2 separate regions of the Homo sapiens genome follow, and region 1 is linked to region 2. Evidence: promoter capture Hi-C in 16 types of primary human blood cells and fetal thymus (Javierre and others, 2016). All regions are on one chromosome and are shown on one strand. Each heading gives the region's core, a stretch centred on a gene start or on the middle of the fragment in contact. The rest is flanking DNA. Distances are from core to core; before and after follow the strand shown.

Region 1 (3,038 bases), core at 239-2,738, about 13 Mb before region 2:
TGATACTTTATCTGTTTTTTTTTCCTAAATATCACAAGCTATTAAATTTATTTCACAATTGACTAGTAGACCACTTTGTCAATTTGGAAAACATTCTTGTTAAAGACAAACATATCTACATCCAGAAACTTTCTATACCTTGCTTTCAAAGAGACAGCATTCTTTGCTAGCCTTCCAATTTTGACTCAGTGCAAAAGCCTTAGAAGGATCCAGTGCATAGGTCTTCATGCTTTCCTTTCACCCCAAGTGATTATCAACTTTGATTTTTCTCTTCAGCAATAACTCACTTGGTGTACCCCTACCTCAGGTACAGCTTTTCAACTTTGCAGCAAAACTGTACTTTCTAGTTCTTTTTGTATTTCAGATACCTTACTTGTAAAAGCTCTTTTGCTCTATGACCTGGCTCAAACTTAAACTTGGATTTGAAGTTAGAAGAAATGTTGGAAGTCATTTATATATGAAGAAATGTTGGAAGGACTCATATATGCATACATTCCTTGAGTGACTATGAATGACTGCCGGGCAGTAACTTCTGGGCTGTGGTTGTAAACTGTGAGCACTACAAAATGTTTTTCCTTATTGATACCATATTATGGTAGGAAAGACATGGAATAAAAAATTTAGATAGTATGTCAGTAGTTGTGTTTTTAAATGGGTTTCATTAGTGCTTAGCAATTGGGAGCTTGGTGGACCATCTCTTGGTTTTGGACCATCTCTTGGTTTCTGTCAGTATGTAAACCAGAAACTTCAAATGTGTCACAAAAGATGAGCAGAACTATCCCGAGGTTCATTAAAGTCTTTTACTCTGTCCTCAGTGTGAAATCTTAAATCTTTGAACAAAAAAATTCACTATCTCTCTGAATCCTTTGTCCTTACAGGAGAGAAAAATCAAAGTAAGTTAATTACTGTTCAAGACAGAGAATCAGAAGAAGAGCTTTCTTGTTGGCAAATCTGGCAACAAATTGCAAATGACTTAACCAGGTGTCAAGACTCCATGATCAATAATTCTCAGTGTCACAAACAAGGTGATTTCCCTTACCAGGTAGGGACAGAACTGTCTATTCAAATTTCTGAAGATGAGAACTATATAGTAAATAAAGCAGATGGTCCCAATAATACTGGGAATCCAGAGTTTCCTATCTTGAGAACCCAGGATTCTTGGAGGAAAACATTCCTGACTGAGTCACAGAGATTGAACAGAGATCAGCAAATTTCCATAAAAAATAAATTATGTCAATGTAAGAAGGGTGTTGATCCCATCGGTTGGATTTCACATCATGATGGTCATAGAGTACACAAAAGTGAAAAATCTTATAGACCCAATGATTATGAAAAAGACAACATGAAGATTTTGACATTTGATCACAATAGCATGATTCACACAGGACAGAAATCGTACCAGTGTAATGAGTGTAAAAAACCCTTCAGTGATCTCTCCAGCTTTGATCTTCATCAGCAGTTACAATCAGGAGAGAAGTCTCTTACATGTGTTGAGCGTGGAAAAGGCTTCTGTTACAGCCCAGTTCTTCCTGTTCATCAGAAAGTACATGTGGGAGAAAAACTTAAGTGTGATGAGTGTGGTAAGGAATTCAGTCAGGGCGCTCATCTACAGACCCATCAGAAAGTCCACGTGATAGAGAAACCATACAAATGTAAGCAATGTGGGAAAGGTTTCAGTCGTAGATCAGCACTTAATGTTCATTGCAAGGTCCACACGGCAGAGAAACCTTATAATTGTGAGGAGTGTGGGAGGGCCTTCAGTCAGGCCTCTCATCTTCAGGACCATCAGAGACTCCACACTGGGGAGAAGCCATTCAAATGTGATGCATGTGGTAAGAGCTTCAGTCGGAATTCACATCTTCAATCCCATCAAAGAGTTCATACAGGAGAGAAACCATACAAATGTGAGGAGTGTGGTAAGGGCTTCATTTGTAGCTCAAATCTTTACATTCATCAGAGAGTCCACACAGGAGAAAAACCCTATAAATGTGAGGAATGTGGTAAAGGCTTTAGTCGGCCTTCAAGTCTTCAGGCCCATCAGGGAGTTCACACTGGAGAGAAGTCATACATATGTACTGTATGTGGGAAAGGCTTTACTCTGAGTTCAAATCTTCAAGCCCATCAGAGAGTCCACACTGGAGAGAAGCCATACAAATGCAATGAGTGTGGGAAGAGCTTCAGGAGGAATTCCCATTATCAAGTTCATCTAGTGGTCCACACAGGAGAGAAACCCTATAAATGTGAGATATGTGGGAAGGGCTTCAGTCAAAGTTCGTATCTTCAAATCCATCAGAAGGCCCACAGTATAGAGAAACCTTTTAAGTGTGAGGAGTGTGGGCAGGGTTTCAATCAGAGCTCACGACTTCAGATTCACCAGCTGATCCATACGGGTGAGAAACCATACAAATGTGAAGAGTGTGGCAAGGGATTTAGTCGTAGAGCAGATCTTAAAATTCACTGTAGGATCCACACAGGAGAGAAACCATATAATTGTGAGGAGTGTGGGAAGGTCTTCAGGCAGGCCTCAAATCTTTTGGCCCATCAGAGAGTCCACAGTGGAGAAAAACCATTCAAATGTGAAGAATGTGGGAAGAGTTTCGGTCGGAGTGCACATCTTCAAGCCCATCAAAAAGTCCACACTGGAGATAAGCCATACAAATGTGATGAGTGTGGGAAGGGCTTCAAGTGGAGCTTGAACCTTGACATGCATCAGAGGGTGCACACAGGAGAAAAACCATATAAATGTGGGGAGTGTGGTAAGTACTTCAGTCAGGCCTCAAGTCTTCAACTTCATCAGAGTGTCCACACAGGAGAGAAACCATACAAATGTGATGTGTGTGGTAAAGTCTTCAGTCGGTCTTCACAACTACAGTCTCATCAGCGAGTTCACACTGGGGAGAAACCTTATAAATGTGAGATATGTGGTAAGAGCTTCAGTTGGCGATCAAATCTTACAGTTCATCACAGAATCCATGTTGGTGATAAATCCTATAAAAGTAATAGGGGTGGTAAGAACATCAGAGAATCCACACAGGAAA
Region 2 (3,047 bases), core at 348-2,847:
CACTCCAGCCTGTGCAACACAGTGAGATCCTGTCTCCAAAATTAAATAAATAAATAAAATTACATTTTGGAGACTAAACGCTGCTTGTAGTCATAGTTCTAACACAGCTGTGTGCTCAGCTTCATTTGCTCACTTCTCAGAATTCAATGTCTCCTGCTCAAATTTTGCTGTCATCTTAACCGTTTTCACTTATCACAGATATGTTTCTCCAGGTCCATTTCGTCATGTATCTGTGAATAACTACAGAATTATTAACTTTGAGTAATTTGGCCGGGCGCGGGGGCTCTCCTGTAATCCCAGCACTTTGGGAGGCTGAGGCGGGCAGATCACGAGGTCAGGAGATCGAGACCATCCTGGCTAACACGGTGAAACCCCATCTCTACTAAAAATACAAAAAGTTAGCCGGGCATGGTGGCAGGCGCCTGTAATCCCAGCTACTCCGGAGGCTGAGGCAGGAGAATAGTGTGAACCTGGGAGGCGGAGCCTGCAGTGAGCTATGGTCGCACCACTGCACTCCAGCCTGGGCGACTGAGCAAGACTCCGTCTCAAAAAAAAAAAACACAAAACAACTTTTGAGTAATTTAAACAATTCACAAATGTTTTTGTCTTTCTTTCCCCATACACTCGCCCTTTTCTTTTTTAAAACCATAAATAAATCTCAATTCTCAATTCAGACACTGTCGGTGTAATTGCAGGTGAAATGAGAATCACCTCCCAGCCAAGAAATCTGATCCCAATTTTCCAAATCTTTATTTCTGGGTTCAGACACCACATTTTCAGCCCCTGTCTTGGCATATAAAAGCATTTATAATGGTTCTTCTTTTCAGATAAGAAACATCACCAAAAGGAAATAGATATATCTCAACTTTTGGGCTAGGAACTCTCATTTGGATAAAAGAATATTTCTCCTTTGGTTGGACATTAGTGACCATACAGGCAGGAAAGGTGCCTTCCTTGACCACCTTCTCTCGCCTGTCTTCCTCCTCATGGTTCTCTCAGGTATTTTTTTTCTGAGGAAACCAGAGGAAGAGCTCTATATTAGTCCACTTGCCTCAGGGAGCTCCAGCATCCCTCCATAGCCACTGTCTGGAGACCATTCTTCCACTCCATGGCCCTGCCTGGGGACAATTCTCTGTTAACTCTGACCCAACTGAGGCTCACAAAACTGACTCAAAGCTTCCCTCTACAGTACACATATTTTTTAAATGAAGGAAATTTGACTGAACTATGAGTGGACTCAGAGTGACATTGGATGTTGTGTGTCCATTTGGTGGTGTGGCTTCAGGGAACATCTGTAAGAATATATCCCAATATTTCGGGGATCCCTGCAGACCTCACTACACAAGACCTGGTTGAGGGTCCTTTAAAAGGAGCGAAGCCACGCCCTGACCTCAGAGTCTCAGGGCATAATTTCTCAGCGCCCCTCGCAGTACCATTTGGCCTTTGCCCAGCGTGCAGGGGAGTTAGCCGTCACCACGGCCAAGTGCACATGAGAACTGCATTGCCCAGAAACCTGTGCGCCGCCCGGCGGCGGCACTCTTAGGGGCGTCTCCCTGCGGACGGAAGCTCTCTGGGCGGGACTTCCGGTATCTTCCTCGCGGTGGACATCTTGTCGGCTCTTAGGTGGAACCATCGGAGCAGAAGCTCGGGGTTGCTGGGCGGTTCCGAGGTGACGGAAGCGGGAGGGTGCGGGAGAAGTCGCTGTTCGCTCTGCGGAGTGGCTCGCCAGCGAAGACCCCGCCTGCGCCCCCGGGGACGGACGACCGCGGTGCCAGGGTCCCGCGACCTGGGACCCCCTCGCGGCTCCGGGTGGTCTACGAACTGTGATGGCGGCGGCCGCGGTGATGGGCCCGGCGCAGGTGGGTGCTGCCTTTCCCAGACTTTCGCCCGCCCCAAATCCTGAAGTTCCAAATGAGGAGCGCCTGTCTGAGTCCCTGCAGCGCAGGCCCCAGTGTCCAAGGCAGCGGGGCGCTGGTGGGTGGGGGCGAGTGTGACTGGCAGAGGGGCAGCCTGAGCATAGGTTTGGAGCTGGACTGAGCCCGTAGCAGTCGGGAGCGTGTGTGAACCGTAGTCAGGCCTGCAATGTCGAGGGGAGAAGTTGCTCCTTCATTGCGAGGACGATAGGAGCCATGGCGGGTTTTGAATGGTGGAGGGAAGGGATCCGAAAAAGGATTTTTAAAGTATTCCAATGTTTGCTGAGGAGGAAACCGACTACAGTGAGGTAGAAACGATGAGGATGGAGGCAAGGAGACGTTTGAGGAGGTCCCTGCAACAAACTCCAGAAGTGTTGCGGTGGTGGCTGGGCCAGAGCAGTGGCAGGAGGGGTTGGGTGGGGAAGTCATGAGATTCTGGGTAGATTTTTAAAGATGGAACCAATGGGGTTTCCTGCCGCATCAGATGTGGTCGTGAGTGAATGTAGGGAGGAAAGGGCTATCCAGGGTTTTTTTGGCCTGTTTTCCTTCCTGAACGTGTGAAAGAATGGAAATTGGTAAGTCACAGCAGGGAGCACGTTTCAGGGGCATCAGGAATTGGGTTTTGGACTTGGTGAATCTAAGGTGTTCTGCACTGGAGGTTCATCACGGGTAGCTGAACATGCAGGTCTGGGGTTCTAGAGAGGGAGTTGTGCTAGAGACTTCAATGGGTGAGGCATAAGGTCAAAGCCTGTAGTAGATCAGATTTAGAGGGTGGAATTTCAAGGAAGTTATTTTGTGTGGTCTCTGAAGTGAGAGGTGGGTTTAGGGTGGAAGGCCAGGGATGAAGGGGTGGACACTTAAGATTCCTTCCAGAAAGGAGGGGTCCTGGCATGTGAAAGCATTCTAGATGGTGTTGTTGGAAGTCAATGCTTGGTGCTGCAAAGTGAAACCAGCACTCAGGCAAAAGTTTTCTCAGCAAGGCAATTTACTTCTGTGCAAGTGTGCTGCCTGTGTTAATCACGATCCCAAGAGCACACTGAACAAAGGAGGGAAGGGGTTTTTATCTCTAACCCATAGTCCCTACCTTCCTCTGTGTCACTCCCCCATGGGCTGGGGTCGGACCGCTTAATCTAA

What was found. Contacts are between HindIII fragments. The CHiCAGO score rates a contact against its expected background, and 5 or more counts as called.
Region 1: a contact is called between a fragment that was not itself captured here and the fragment with the promoter of ZNF134 in region 2, in 1 of 17 cell types (total CD4 T cells). The highest score is 6.1, in total CD4 T cells.

Annotation. Positions count from the first base shown.
Region 1 is chr19:44,174,620-44,177,657 of GRCh38, forward strand. ZNF226 (zinc finger protein 226) reads left to right here. Exons shown (of 6, transcript NM_001032373.2): 6 at 879-3,038. Among named protein-coding and RNA genes, the nearest start is that of ZNF226, 11 kb to the left of the region's middle. The HindIII fragment of the contact is 8,400 bases long and covers 1-3,038 here.
Region 2 is chr19:57,612,645-57,615,691 of GRCh38, forward strand. ZNF134 (zinc finger protein 134) reads left to right here and starts at 1,598. Exons shown (of 3, transcript NM_003435.5): 1 at 1,598-1,859. It also overlaps a transcript of ZNF530 not described here. RefSeq lists an enhancer at 1,493-1,672 and a silencer at 1,803-1,852. The HindIII fragment of the contact is 2,580 bases long and covers 1,175-3,047 here.